Regions from separate parts of the Homo sapiens genome. Here regions 2, 3, 4 and 5 are each linked to region 1. Evidence: promoter capture Hi-C in 16 types of primary human blood cells and fetal thymus (Javierre and others, 2016). All regions are on one chromosome and are shown on one strand. Each heading gives the region's core, a stretch centred on a gene start or on the middle of the fragment in contact. The rest is flanking DNA. Distances are from core to core; before and after follow the strand shown.

Region 1 (2,836 bases), core at 166-2,665:
TTTGTCTTCCTTTACTTCCCTGAATACCCACATAGCTTATTGTGGCATGCATATTCCCATTGCAATGCCCTATTCACAAATGAACATCTTTTTCGTTCAGAGTCTCCCTGTGCTTTAGGTAGACCTTGTCTAGATGCTAACTCGTAGAGAAGAACTCAGCTTGAATATCACCCCTGGGGGATGACCTCCATTCTCTCCTCCTTCCTTTATTCAGCGAGGTTATGAAGCACCTGCCCTGGGCCAGGGGCTTTTCTGGGCATGGAGTAGGAGTGGACAGAACACAAAACCCCTGTCCAACACACCTCACAGACATTAAGGATTGAGTGCTGAGTATGCTTGGAGTCAAACTGTAAAAGATTTGAAGATATTTATTCATGTCATAGTCCCAGGAGATCCTGAGAACACGTGCTCAAACTGGTGGTGCTACAGCTTTTGGTTTCGTACGTTTTAGGGAGACATAAGCCATAAATCAATACATGTAAGATGTAACATTGGTTCCGGAAAGGTGGGACAACTCGAAGGTGGGGTGGGGCTTCCAGGTCATAGGTGGATTCAAAGATTTTCTGGGCCGGGGGCAGTGACTCACACCTGTAATCCCGCCACTTTGGGAGGCTGAGGTGGGCGGATCCCTTGAGGTCAGGAGTGAGAGACCAGCCTGGCAAATACGGTGAAACCCCGTCTCTACTAAAAATACAAAAATTAGCTGGGCTTGGTGGCGGGCGCCTGTAATCGCAGCTACTAGGGAGGCTGAGGCAGGAGAATCGCTTGAATCTTGGAGGTGAAGGTTGCAGTGAGCCGAGGTCGCGCCCACTACACTCCAGCCTGCGACAGAGCAAAACTCCATCTCAAAAAAATTTAATTAATTAAAAATTAAATTAAATTAAAATACTGTAAAATACTTCGATATCTTTCAGGGCCTGCCATCTGTCATGTCGGTATCCTATTGCTACGGAGAGTCCGCCTAGACAGTCTTAAGTCTGTTTTGACGTTAATGCTGGTCCGAATTCCAAAGGGAGGAGGAGGGTCTAGTGAGGCGGGTCCCACCCGGCCTTTCCCATCAGAGCCCGAACTCGCGGTTCAGGTTCCCTCTAGGACGCCCTTGGCCGAGAGGAGGCCTCCAATGGCTGGCTGGGGGGCTTAGAATTTTATTTTTGGTTTACAGCGCAGAAGAAGAGCAGTGAGGCCGGGGCGCGGGTGGGGAGGGCAAGGCGGCGGCTCAAAAAAAAAGCCAGCCCCTCGCGGCCCGACAGAGTCTCGGCGCCCCGCGGGTCGGTGGAGCCTCAGGGGTGAGCGCAGGCCGGAGACAGGGGAACCCGCCGCGGGACAGGGGAAGGCCGGACGGAACGCGGGTAAGCTGCCGCAGCTTCCGGCCGGGCCACTAGCGCGGACCCTACGGCCGGGGCGGGACTTCCGGCAAGGCGCGGAAGCGGCGGTAGCTGCAGCTGGCGAAGTTGGGCGACTGGCGGATGCAGGCCTTGCGGCACGTCGTGTGCGCCCTGTCCGGCGGCGTGGACAGCGCCGTGGCCGCGCTGCTGCTGAGGCGGAGAGGTGAGGCGTCCGAGGCTCCCGCCCCCCGCCGAGCGAATGTGTCCCCGGAAACCTGTCCCCGTCCGTCGTGGCGTTGTGCACGTCTCCTCCCTCCCTGGGCCGCTGGTTGCGCGCGGGTCGGCAGGAGGATACCCCGTCCTCTGACTTTGGTTCGGAGGCTCCTCGCCCTCCACCTGTGTAGTCGGAGGTGTGCGCGACTGCAGCTCCGACTACCTGGGAGCAGTTCCGCGCCCCTCTCCACCCACGCGCGCCCACCCACAGTGAGAAGCCGGCGGGCCGGGGTGGGGTGGGGAGGGAAGGGTTTCTCACGGATCTGCGGCGTCCACATTCACCTGTGAGACCGTGGACACTGGTGAGGGGAGCTGGGATCGCCGGGCCGGGGGCCTGACCTCTGCACACGCTGTGGCCGCCCGGTGGGAGGTCCTTGTCCTCCCCACTCAGCAGACTGGACAACTGCCGCGCGGCGGGTCTGCTTGTTCAGCGTCTCCTGTGTTCTCCGCTCGCTGGAGGACAAAGTTTTCTCCAGGAGCATTTGCATTTCTTCCGGCATCTAAACGGAGCCCCACGGGTGCTTAGCATTCCTCGGGCCCGGCGCTGAAATGAGCACTTGTTTAACTTCACCTGTGTGGCTCCCCGCGGGAGGCCTCATTCACAGAGTCACGTTTGTGGAGCTCTGCTTTGCGCCATCTTTGGCTCCTGACCTTGGGCAAGTGAATTAAGCCGTCCCCTGTAAAATTCGGCTAACACCTGCCTCACGGGGTGACTGGAGGGATTAGATGACATAGTACATACTGATGAGTACGTGCTCAGCACATACGAGGTACGCAGAAAACAGTAGTGGCTATTAGTTTATATTGTTAATAACCATAGCTATTATGGTAGGTACAGTAAGTGCCAAAGAGAAGGGTAGGCGGACCATAAGCAGAAATAGTTGTGAGGAAGGGAGAGTGGAGGAAAGCATCCTAGAGATGGAGGTGCTCAGCTGAGTCGAAAGAAGAGTAGGATGTCACTAAGCAGAGACTTGGAGGTGGAGGCGGCCCTCCCGGCACAGTCAGCAGTGCAAGCAGAATCACAGAGGCCTGCAAGTGTGGGCTGGTTCTGGCCAGATGGAGATGGAAGGAGAGGAGCCTGGAGCACGTTTAGCCCTGATTATGGAAGATGCTATACCAGGGGCTTTAGACTGTTAGGTAGACATTAGTCTGGTTGATCTGGGATAGGGGTGGTCTTTCGCGTGTGGTGGTGTAGTTTTGACAAAGCTTTGTCATCAAATTTCTGTTGTTTTGGGTAC
Region 2 (2,836 bases), core at 177-2,676, 350 kb before region 1:
CAGGACGTTACTTATGGTCACTGGGGAGCTACTGAAGATTTTGAGAGAGGGGGGCACCAGAGGTGGGCCCTGGATGGAGTGTCCCCAGCTTGCCTGACCAGCCAATTTTTAGCATTACCACAGGCCCACTTCTCCGAAATATCTCAGGGAAGGGGCTAGGAATCTGAATGTTTAATCAACACCCAGGTGGCTCCAGAGATCAAGCACAATTGGCAAATGATAGTTCTGGCAAACGTGTAAACTGCAGAAAGTTCCGTGGGAAGGTCCACACCCCAAGTCCTCTCAGTGTACACCCTGAGCCCCTAGGGGGTTCCCAGCCCTTGCCAAGGGAGGTGGAGGGCTCCTAGGGGAGAAGCAGTCCCTCCCAGGAGGGACAGAGTCCCCACTGGGGATGGGGAGCAGGGGCCACCTGGGGAGGAGGCTGCGGGCGTCAGATGATTTCCAGCAGGAGCCTGTGTGTGCCCACCAGGACCCCTCATCCAGAGAAGGGCAGACAGAGCTCTGGCATTTCTGGAGGGAGAATGAGGAGCCCCCAAAGGCAAATCCAGGAGCTTGACCCAATTCAGGGCAGAAGCTAAGGGATATCCAAGAGCCCAGGGAGCAGAAGGAGGGGGTGAGCACCAGTGACGGCAGTGGCTGCTCCAAGATGGCCTCCCACTGCCATCACACAGACTGCAGCAGGGAGGCATGGCCAGGGCCGCATACTCCATGGAGCAGGCCGGAGCCCCACCCTCCTAGGTGGGGCTGCAGCCGCCCAAATTGTGGCTGCAGATCTGAGCATCCCTGTGCTCTTGGGACAGGAGCAGGCAAGAGCCCTACCCTCCCAGGCACAGCTGCAGCCACCAAAACTGTAGCTGCAGACTCAGGAATTTCTGCACTCAGGGACCTGGGAAGGCCCCCACTGCCCTTGCAGGCTTGGAAGTGCCTGTTCCCACTGCCTGGCTTTTCCCTGCCGTCAGTGCCTGCTTTGATCTCAAAGCAAAGTCAGGGCCAAGCCCTGGTGCCATGAATGGCAGCAGGAGGCAGGCACATTCCTGGGAGGAAGGGGACGGGTCCCCCGTGAGGCTCCACCTTTAGGGCCAGGGAGGGCCTGAAGGCTGGAGGCTGGGCTTCCAGTCCCACCAACCTGAATGGGAATTTGTGGTGCCTTTTCTGGGCCTGCCCATGGCTACCCATGGACCAATCTGCATGCACTTTCTCCCCTCTGAGGCCCATAAAAACCCTGGGCTCAGCCAGAGCTGAGCAGATTACAAGTTGATCAGCTGCTGAGAGGAGCTACCCTCTCTGCTGAGAGCTTCAGAGACCTGAGGAGATGTCAGAATAACCTGCCTGCAGAGAGGCACTACCCTCTCTGGGGCTTCCTCTCTGCGGAGAGCTGAACACTCGATGGGACAACCTGCCTAGAAAGAGGAGCTACCCACTGCAGGTCTCCTCTGAGCTGTTCTAATACTCAATAAAGCTCCTCTTTGTCTTGCTTACCCTCTACTTGTCTGCATACCTCATTCTTCCTGGATGCAGGACAAAAACTCAGGCAAAGACGCCACTGGTCACAGAGGTTTCCAGCTAAAAAGACGACACCCAAAAGATCCTGTAACACCAGGAGCTAGCATGGGTTCACTGGGAATGAAATGTGTAGGCTCCCTGTGACTTCTGACCTCTGTGAGGGTCATGAACCCAGGAGGTGAGGCATTTGACAGGGAGGCTCGGGACTGCCTCATAGACAAACTCACATCACATCTTCTATGTTAAAACAAATGCTCTGTGTCTCTAACAAAAGTCCTCTCCAGGACCAGGAGAGCTGAGGTCAGGCTGCCCAGCACATCCAGCTGCACCTTGACCAAAACTCCAGGCTGCCTGAGCCTGGCAGTCAGCCGAGAGAGGAGGTGATGAGGGCCAGGTGTGCTGAGTGAGGCTGAGGCAGGGGCGAGCCCCCATCTCTGCAGATGAGGATCTGGAGTCCAGGTGAGGCCTGGTCTGCGCTTGTCCATGAACCCCTTCCTCGGTAGGAGAGCCAAGGACCTGAGTCTGGAGAGGGATGCTCCTGGCCCTCCCTGACCCCAACATACAATCACTCCTCGCCTGTGGCAACCGACCAGCACCGCCCTGATGGGGCAGCTCCAGGACCCTGGCTAAGCTGGGTTTGCTGGTGGGCAAAAGCAATGTGCCCTGGGCAGTCCTTTACCTCCTCCTTCCATGAGGGTCACTTTGACCTCCACCCTGCACTGATGACTGCTGGTGGAAGATCCAGGTTTGAGCTTTGAGGGAGGAGGAGGGAAGGCCCTTTCCAGTGCCTCCCACCACAGAATGAAGAGTCCTTTGATTTCCTGCTTGAGTCCCCCATGGGGAGAAGATGGATGCCCAAGGCTGAATCTGAGCCTTCCAGAGTTCCCTGCATAAAGCCCACCCTCTAAAAGTGCCACGACCCAGTGGGACTAACCTAGCACATGATGCCAGAGTGCCCAGCACCCAGGGCTGAGGCTGGGTTAGGCCACAAAGGCCACCGAAAGCCAGGCCACCATTTGGACCTCATCCTTCTAGGCAAGGGCCCGACACCGAGCACTCAGCTGCCTGTCTCCGCTGGGGCTTCTTGTGGCTGCACCATGGGCATTCAGGGCAGGATCGTTCCCTGTGGTGGGGACCGTCTGTGCCCGGTAGGATGTTCAGCAGCGTCTCTGGCCTCTGCCCACTAGACGCTTTTAGCACACAGCATCCCCTGAGGTATGACAACAAAACGTATCCCCAGACATTGCCAAATGTCTCCCGGGGAGCAGAATTGGCTCCAGTTGAGAACCACTGGTCTAAGATATGAGCGTTGGACTTTTTGGTGTGGAGGACC
Region 3 (2,836 bases), core at 202-2,701, 330 kb before region 1:
GGGGTGGGCACAGCGAGAGGCAGCCACACTAGCTGCTCCCGCTGGGCCAGGCCTGGTGGATGGTGTCATCCTCCCTCACATTCCTGGATCTCAGGGACACCACTTCCCCAGGCTCAAGCAGCTGAGTCATGAGTGTCCTCCCTTCAGGGGACCCAGCCATTGGCTTGGGTAGATTAGTTCTGATTTAACCCCAAAATAATGACTTAGTGGCTTTCCTAACTGCAGCCAGCTTTGCAGGGCCTCCGAGCTTTCAGGCCACCTCCCCTCCCAGATGCCCTTGAGCTGGACCTGAGAAGACCCGCCCAGAGGAAGGCGAGGAAGACTCCACAGGGGTGACAGGGGCCCAGACACCCCCTATCTGCATCAGGACCCATGTGAGCAGAGCTCACCCTGTTGTCGCCCTGGGCACTGTGGCCATCTGCCAAGGGACAGATAGATGGACCTTCCTAGTCCTCAGGCCTCAGGCCATCCACAGGGTAAACCCACATCCACCCACATCTCCTGGAGCCTCCCCCGCCTGGGAATGGGAGCGAATGACCCCATCACACTGGTCTGATGGATGAGTGAGCAGCACCCAGGAGGCCGGACGCGGGAGGCTTGGCCTGGCCGGCAGGGAGTGGGCGCCCTGGGCTGGGACCGGGTTTCCTGCTCCCCTCTGTCTAGGCTTTTCCTGGGGGACCTGGCCTTGGAGGCCAGCGCCTGAGGGCCCCGCAAGACAGTCAGTCTTGCTGTCACTCCCAATGCCATCTTGTGTCCCCTCTCCCCAGACCCCTCTGCTCTGGGAGACTGGTGAGTGAACACCTCGTGAGGTGCATCCTGTGTGGGCAGGATTCCGACCAAGTGCTCCGACGTGGAAGGAAAGAATGCACACTCAGGCAATCTGGGTGTGACCACCTTGCTGTCCTGCGATCTAGGGGATGAGAGGAGGTGACAAGGCCCAAGGGGGTCATGCCGCAGACATGCCCAGGCCCGGCCTGTGTGGTCAGCTGAGGGTCCTTTAGCTGCCCGTCTACTGTCCTCAGGTAGGATGCCTCGTGCTGGGAGCCAGGCCGCCCAGCACCCTTCCAGCCTCTGCTGACTCCAGCTGTGTGTCGTCGGGCATCTTACTCAACCTCTCTGTTTCTTGTCCTTCTGCGCCTAGGGTCATGATAGACCTTGCTTCCCAGCAAGCATGGAAGAGGCTGCGAAGAACAGCTGGTGCCCAGGAAACTGGGAAGCCCTGGCTAGGTCTCAGTGCTGTGGCTGCTGGTGTTCACACCATGGGCCAATGCTAGGGATTCACAGAGGCAGGGGATGGGGTCCCTGCTCCAGGGTTCTCCCAGTCTGAGGGGCAGACATGTGACTGATGTCAACTCTCCTGGGTGGCCTGGGGTGAGAGAGAGTGACTCATCCCTGGGTGCCTTGGGGACGGTGGCCCTAGGAGGGGACTCCCCTGGCCCTGAAGAGTTGTGTGGCATCCCAGGTAGAGGGGCTGGAGGGGTAAAGCCCACCGCCATGCTCCGAGCACGCTGAGGGCTTGGTGTGAGAGTGTGGTGGATGTGGGTTGGGTGGGCTGCGAGGCCTCCAGCCTCCCACCTGCCTGCCTTTATTGATTTCCAGGGATTCAGGACCTCAGACGCTGGGCCGGTGACAGGCCCCTGGGATTCTGGTCGCAGTCCAAAGGGTCTCTGGCCACCCTGGGCCTGATCAAGTCCTCCCTCTATCTGGATCTATTTCTCCGTCACCAAAAGTTGGCACTTGGGTTTAGTGGCTGACAGCCCTTCTGATTCTAACAGGAAGTGGCTCTGCAGGGTTCCGTCACGCACGCGCTGTGCTGGGGGTCCAGGAGAGGGCTCTAGGAGTCGGACGGTTGGTGGGGGAGGATGGAGTCTGGCTGCAGAGCCCAAGCATGTTTTGTGGGGGCCCGGCGGGTGAAGGGTGTCACAGCGATGGAGGTGCAAGGTGATAGATGAGAGAGGCAGTCCCAGCACAGGAACCCAAGCAGGCAGCACCTGCATGGCATGGCTCTCCCGCCCTCCATTCGCGGGGCGGCCTCCCATCCTCCATTCTGATGGTGACATTGAAAATGAAACGCCAGGACCCCAGCACCTGCATGGTGTGGCCCTTCCGTCCTCCATTCTTTTTTCTTTTACTTTTTTCTTTTTTTTTTTTTTTTTGAGACAGAGTCTTGCCCTGTCGCACAGGTTGGAGTGCAGTGGTGTGATCTCAGCTCACTGCAACCTCCGCCTCCCGAGTTCAAGCGATTCTTCTGCCTCATTCTCCCAAGTAGCTGAGACTACAGGCACCTGCCACCATGCTTGGCTAATTTTTGTGTTTTTAGGAGAGACGGGGTTTCACCATGTTGGCCAGGCTGGCCTCGAACTCCTGACCTCAGGTGATCCGCCTGCCTCGGCCTCCCAAAATGCTGGGATTACAGGCATGAGCCACCACGCCCGGCCTCCATCCACCCTTCTGATGGTGACATTGGAAATGCCAGGACCCCAGGGGTTCAGGTGGCCAACCCAGCTTCCAATCCACCCGTGTAGCCCCATGTGCCATGCCTTGGGTAGGTTGCCAGGGTTCTGAGCCTCTCCCTCCTTGTGTGAAAGCCCCTCTCCTGGATCTGGGCAGAGGGTGTGCACAGCCTCTGGAAGTGGCCTGGCGGGCGTGGGGGCTCAGTGAGCACAGGGCCTGGGCTTGCAGGTGAAGCCCGAGGAGGTGGTATGGCTCCACCTGGCTGCCCTGGGGACCCAAGGTGCGGGCATGGGCACTGGCCCTCTGCCCCAGGAGAACGGCTGCCGGCCTTGACATCTTGGCGCCTCCCCCGCTCCCTCAGCCCTGTCCCCTGCACCTAGGG
Region 4 (2,836 bases), core at 175-2,674, 320 kb before region 1:
TGAAATGGAACATTTTTCATAGTTATATTGGCAATTTGAAGTTTCTCTTCTGTAAATTTCCTTCCCATATCCTTTGCAAATATTTTATCTTATTTACTTACAAAGAGACTTTTGTATGTTACTGATATGATCTGGTTCTGTGTCCCCACCCAAATCTCATCTTGAATTGTAATCCAAACTGTAATACCCATGTGGTGGGGGAGGAATCTCGTGGGAGGTGATTGGATCATGGGGGTGGTTCCCCCGTGCTGTTCTCATGATACTGAGTGAGTTCTCGCGAGATCTGATGGTTTTATAAAAGGCTCTTTTCCCTTCGCTCTGCACTTCTCTCTCCTGCTGCCTTGTGAAGGAGGTGCCTGCTTCCCCTTTGCCTTCCGTCATGACTGTAAGTTTCCTGAGGCCTCCCCAGCCATGTGGAACTTGAGTCAATTAAACCTCTTTCCTTTATAAATTACCTAGTCTTGGGCAGGCACAGTGGCTCACGCCTATAATCCCAGCACTTTGGGAGGCCGAGGTGGGTGGATCACTTGAGTTCAGGAGTTTGAGACCAGCCTGGCCAACATGGTGAAACCCCATCTCTACTAAAAAGTGCAAAAATTAGCTGGGCATGGTGGCACGTGCCTGTAATCCCAGCTATTCAGGAGACTGAGGCAGGAGAATCGCTTGAACCTGGGAGGCAGAGTTTGCAGTGAGTCGAGATCGCATCACTGCACTCCTGCCTGGGCAAAAAGTGAGACTCCATCTCAAATAAATAAATAGATAAATAAAATAAATTACATAGTTTTGGGTATGTCTTTATAGCAGTGTGAAAACGGACTAATACACTTATGTTAGAAGGATTTTGTCCAGCACATAGTTTTTCCCGGTTTGTTGTTTGCCTTTTCACTCTGCTTATACTGTTTCCTCCCACACATGGAAACAAAACCGTATATATATTCTCCATTCTTTTCTTTGTGGCCCTGATGTGAGTCTCACTGCTTAGGAAGATATTTCTCAACCTCAAAATTAGGTAAATATTTATGTATACTTTATCCTCGTGTATTTATGGTTTCATTTTTTTTTTTGCCTTAAGGTTCTTTTTTTATTTATTTATTTTTTTGTTACCTTAAGATTCTTAACCCATCTCAAATTTATTTTGGTACAAGAAGAGAGACATGGATCTAATTTCATTTCATCTTTCTCAATGGTTGCCTGTTGCTCCATCCATCCCTTATTTAAAAAAAAAAAAATGTGTACCCAAACAAGCTGGGCACAGTGGCACATGCCTGTAGTCCCAACCACTTAGGAAGCCAAGGTGGGAGGATCACTTGAGCCCAGAAATTCAAGACCAGCCTTGGCAATATAGCAAGATCCCATCTCTAAAACATATCCCATACCTTTACCTCTTTCTACATTTTCTATTCTGTCTGTTGATCTACTTATTCCAGTGACAGCCCCATAAGTTTTTGAAAATGTTTGCTTTATAATTTGACTATCTGATATTAAATCCCACTAGAAATTATTTATTTAGCTAATATTTATTGAGTCCTTATATTGATCCCAACACTGTTTAGGTGCTGCGGGTACAGCAGCGAACAATGCAGACAAGAATTCTGTTTTTGTGGAACTTACATTCTGTTCAGATACCTATTGCTCATTCCTTCAAAATCTGGTGAAGAGTGAGTGGCAAGTACTCTTCAATGCCAAAGGGTGGGAGATCAACCCTGTCATGCGGTACTGTGTCCCCCATACTAAGAATACAAAGGTCCAGGAACCAAGGGAAAGGCTTAAGTCCAGGAGGTGAGACTGACTTCTCTCACCAGTCTCACATCCTTTGACTTTGTTAAGTTCAAGGTTCCGGTTCCCACAGGGGGATTCTTCCACCAAGCAATAAACTAGAGTCAACTGATCTTGAGGCCTCAATGACCTCTTGATCATGTTGGCTTCTTCATGCCAGTGGACCAACAGTGAAAGAAAGGAGTCACCATCCTGGCAGAGTCATTGACCCTGACCTCAAGAGAAGCTCGGCTTCGGGGCAAGGAGGAATCAGTCTCAGAACCAGATAATTCACTGCAGCGCCTCTTGGCACTTCCAAGGTGGTCATAGCGGGGACCTGGCAATGGCAGCAACCACAGCCAGCAAAAGCAAATGCAGATGAGGGCTCAGACCCTCCAAAGAGGAAGGCGAGGGCCCTGCCACTGCCACACAGCCTAGGCCCATGGAAGTGCTCATCTGGAATTGTGGTGGAGGATTGAGATGAGGTTATCGATCACGACCTCAGACCAGCTGCAGCAGTGGAGACTATAGCTTGTTCCACTAATAATCGTGTTTTAAGAACTTACAGATCTTGCTGCTGGCTGCCACCTTGAAGGGAACTCTGTGGCAGACTAGACATCATCAAAGACTCACATGCACATGTGAGGGAGGCAAGGGGTGGACTACACCAGGCCCCTCTTGTGCTCCACTTCAAGGTCCTCTCAACCCCAACTCCAGCCATTCCCACCACAGCCGGTCTTACAGTGGCTTCATCCAGCTTCATGTGGGTGCCAGCAGCCAGACAGTGCCTTGCCTTGGGCCCATGCTGGAGATCTCTTGCTTCCTGTCCAGGTGCTTCTCTGAATATGCGACTTAGTGGTCCTGGTGGAGCCCTCTGCAGTCACACTCGTGCAACATGGGAATGCTGGAAGTTAATGTCTACAGAACCACCTTGACTGGTGGCAAGTTGAGCTGATGGAGAAATGCTCTCTTTCTTCTCACAGGTGGTCAGTTCTGAGATATATTTCATGAGATCCCCCAGAAACCCCCGTCAGGAGCAGGTATGAGCCTCCTGCAGCTGTGACTGACTCAGTGAAACGTC
Region 5 (2,836 bases), core at 244-2,743, 270 kb before region 1:
ATTATATCTTAAATATCTGTCTTTATATTTTATTCTTAAATTGCGTATAATTTACACTTTCCTGTGCCTTCATTAAACACGTGGTATATTTATAATCAGGGAAAAACTATTTTTAAAGACTCATTATAGGAAGATAGACAAATAGAGACAAATGGCATGCTTTCTTTCAGTCATTGGGGATGGATGATACACGTAGCAGAAGTATTCGTTAGACCAACAAATAGGAATAGTAAGTCAATATTGTTCTTTCTTTAATAAAAGATTTATATGTTGGTAGCTTATTAATCCAATACTATGTGAGTTTTCTAACCAAACACATATACTTGTACGCCAGGGCAGAAAAATCTCAATTAAGATTTTGTGTGGACTCGGGAAGTGTTTTTGTTCCCTAAACAATAGCCTTAAGAAGGGTGGAAAAAGGCCCGTCTTCTTCTTGGATCCTTGGTTGGGTGACAACCCTCCGGTGGTGAGACATGGTGCCTGATTTTCAGTTGGGGCTTTCTGCTTCCCCTGTTTGGTTTTCTAGGGACAATTTAAAAGATTCTGCAAGTTAATTACTGGAGAAGTCCGTAGATCCTGGATTCATAGTATCAGATTAATTGTGGTCTTTGAGTGGGAATCCTAGTGGTTTATTTAGACTCATCAGTTGTCTTATTCTTTTTTTTAAAAAGAAAGAAAACATTTATTTTCGTAAGCTTGTATTGCCCTTAAAATATTTCTCTGCACTCTTAGGTCACCTGCCTATTCACGCCAGGAGCGCATCGCTTGCGTTAAGAGACTAGAAGTTTCTTTCTTAACCATAATGTGCCAGGATTTTGTTATACGGAAAAATCTGTCCGTGTTTCCAACTAATATTTCCTAGCCTTCAGGCAAGTGCGACTTGCTTCACTGTAAAATGGATTCCCAGGACCTGCCGTATCGGGACGGGCAGAATTCTTTAAAATGCAGTGCCCCGGGCAACCCCATCACTTCCCGGCTGGCTCCGGGCGGTCCCGGGCTGCCCGCCGGCCGCAGAGCCCCCTCTCCCGGGCCCGCCCGGCCGGAGCCTCAGTTTCCCCGGCAGAGCGGGGCGGAGGCGAGGCTGGGGACGCTCGGGCGGCGGGGAAGGGGCCGACTCGGCCAGGCGCGCCCGGCTGGGAGGTCCCGCGGGCCCTGGAGCCTCCCGCAGCCCGCCTGGGCCTCCGGGGCGCGACCCCCTAATCCGCTTTAGTCAATATCTTATGAGCTCCGCTTGGGCAAAGTAAACAGGCGCCGAACAAAGCGGCGGCCGCAGCCCGCGACTCCTGACCCCGGGGTCGCGCCCTTTGTTCGCCCTCAATGGGGCAGCCCCGCCGCCCGGCCTGCGGCTAATTGGGGCGCGTGCCGCCGCCTCTGCCCGGACCGCACCCTGGACTCTGCCTGGGACGCGCCCTCGGACGCAGGCCCCGGACCCGCCCGCCAACTCCGACCCGACCCCGGCCTGGGACCCCGGCTCGAACCCTCGTCCCTGCCCAGGCGGACCCCGGCCCCGGCCCGGACCCTCTGCAGCGGCTCCGGGCCCAGGCTCCGACTCCAGGCCTCGGTTCGAACCCTGGGGACCCGCCCCGCCCCGCTGCAGACCGGCCTCCCCGCCCGCCGCGGACCCCGAGCCTCAGGCCTGGTGCCGGACTCGGCCCTGCCTCGCGTGCCCGCCCTGGGGCTGCCTGGAGGAGGCGCACCGAGGCCTCCCTGCCTTCAGAGCCGCTGCGGGCCTGGGCCCTGTGTCCCCCCAGGTCCGCAGCTGGCCGGCTGAAACTGGCCCGCACCTCCCGCCCCGGGGCCGGGTGCTCCTGGTCCGCGCAAGGTCCCCACGCACTCCCGCGGCCACGTGGGTGCCTGTCCCCTGGAGCGGGGTTGGGGGAGGCCGCAGAGACACTGCTCCCGGGGTCCCTGTGCAGGCCCCGTAAGGATTTCAGACAGCCGTGATGCAGAGGAGACGTGTATTAGTTCTTGTTTTTCTTTTTCTGCTCTTTATTTCTGCTTGGAAGCCTGTCACACGGGAAAGAAAAGACGCTCCATCTATGCGAACCCCACTCCCCTGGTGAGGGAAGCCGGAACCCTTCAGACCCTCTGCACGTGGGCTCCCTCCCCGACAACCTCTTTTTCCTCCACATCACAACCTTTCCAGCACCTGGGAACGGTTCTAGGCCAGAGGAGGATGCTGAGGCCATGAATGCATCCGTTGACACGAAATTCAGGCCTTGACCATTTCACGTCTTTCTGTTCTTCGTTTTTTCCTCAAATGTTGGACAAGGTTATAATGTTTATCCCAAGAAGCTTTTGAGACTTAGCACTTGTAATTTTCGTAAGGGTTCTGTTTGATTTTTAAAAAGGTACTTTCTTTTGTAATTAGGTGCAAAAAGGAAAGCACAGAAAGGACTCTTCTTGAAAGCCTTTGCCTCCAAAGATGAGCAGAAAGGCTTCCAGTTCCTGGCACCGCCAGGCAAGGCCCTCTACCTGATTCTCACTTATTTCAGTTTTGTTCACCAGCTGTAAATACTGCTAGGCTTTGCCAGGAAGACTTTTTTTTTTTTATGTTGAGTTTGTTTTTGAGCTTGTTGATTGCACGGTGGAATATTCTAACGTGGAATTTGGCTTTGGGAAGACTTGGTGTTCAGGAGTTGTCGGATATGCCCTGCTGTTGTGAGGATGGAGCTGGGTAGGGGTCCTGCCGTGGGCCATGAGTGGGGGTAGGCAGGTGTGGCCGTCACCTTCTGGGTGTGCGGTGCAGATCTCCACCTGGGAAGGAAAGCCCTTGGGAGACATGCCTTGTGATTCTTGCCTTTCATAGAATGACTGCCAAATAGCCCGGTGCCTC

What was found. The method cuts DNA at HindIII sites, captures the fragments that hold promoters and counts their contacts. A CHiCAGO score of 5 or more calls a contact.
Region 2: a fragment that was not itself captured here is called in contact with the fragment with the promoter of TRMU in region 1 in 8 of 17 cell types (neutrophils, naive CD4 T cells, monocytes and 5 more); the score reaches 11.0 in neutrophils.
Region 3: a contact is called between a fragment that was not itself captured here and the fragment with the promoter of TRMU in region 1, in 16 of 17 cell types (neutrophils, megakaryocytes, erythroblasts and 13 more). The highest score is 12.7, in neutrophils.
Region 4: a fragment that was not itself captured here is called in contact with the fragment with the promoter of TRMU in region 1 in 4 of 17 cell types (neutrophils, activated CD4 T cells, erythroblasts and 1 more); the score reaches 6.9 in neutrophils.
Region 5: a fragment that was not itself captured here is called in contact with the fragment with the promoter of TRMU in region 1 in 4 of 17 cell types (megakaryocytes, neutrophils, naive B cells and 1 more); the score reaches 5.8 in megakaryocytes.

What each region holds. Positions count from the first base shown.
Region 1 is chr22:46,334,299-46,337,134 of GRCh38, forward strand. TRMU (tRNA mitochondrial 2-thiouridylase) reads left to right here and starts at 1,416. Exons shown (of 11, transcript NM_018006.5): 1 at 1,416-1,548. The coding sequence starts at 1,467. RefSeq lists enhancers at 1,454-1,673, 1,506-2,005 and a silencer at 1,814-1,863. The HindIII fragment of the contact is 6,278 bases long and covers 1-2,802 here.
Region 2 is chr22:45,986,620-45,989,455 of GRCh38, forward strand. No RefSeq gene overlaps it. Among named protein-coding and RNA genes, the nearest start is that of WNT7B, 11 kb to the left of the region's middle. RefSeq lists enhancers at 241-741, 742-1,242. The HindIII fragment of the contact is 8,373 bases long and covers 1-2,836 here.
Region 3 is chr22:46,002,855-46,005,690 of GRCh38, forward strand. No RefSeq gene overlaps it. Among named protein-coding and RNA genes, the nearest start is that of WNT7B, 27 kb to the left of the region's middle. The HindIII fragment of the contact is 8,534 bases long and covers 1-2,836 here.
Region 4 is chr22:46,019,268-46,022,103 of GRCh38, forward strand. No RefSeq gene overlaps it. Among named protein-coding and RNA genes, the nearest start is that of LINC00899, 24 kb to the right of the region's middle. The HindIII fragment of the contact is 2,954 bases long and covers 1-2,836 here.
Region 5 is chr22:46,060,302-46,063,137 of GRCh38, forward strand. All of the region lies in intron 1 of LOC124905135 (collagen alpha-1(III) chain-like), which reads left to right. Among named protein-coding and RNA genes, the nearest start is that of PRR34, 7.5 kb to the left of the region's middle. The HindIII fragment of the contact is 1,600 bases long and covers 694-2,293 here.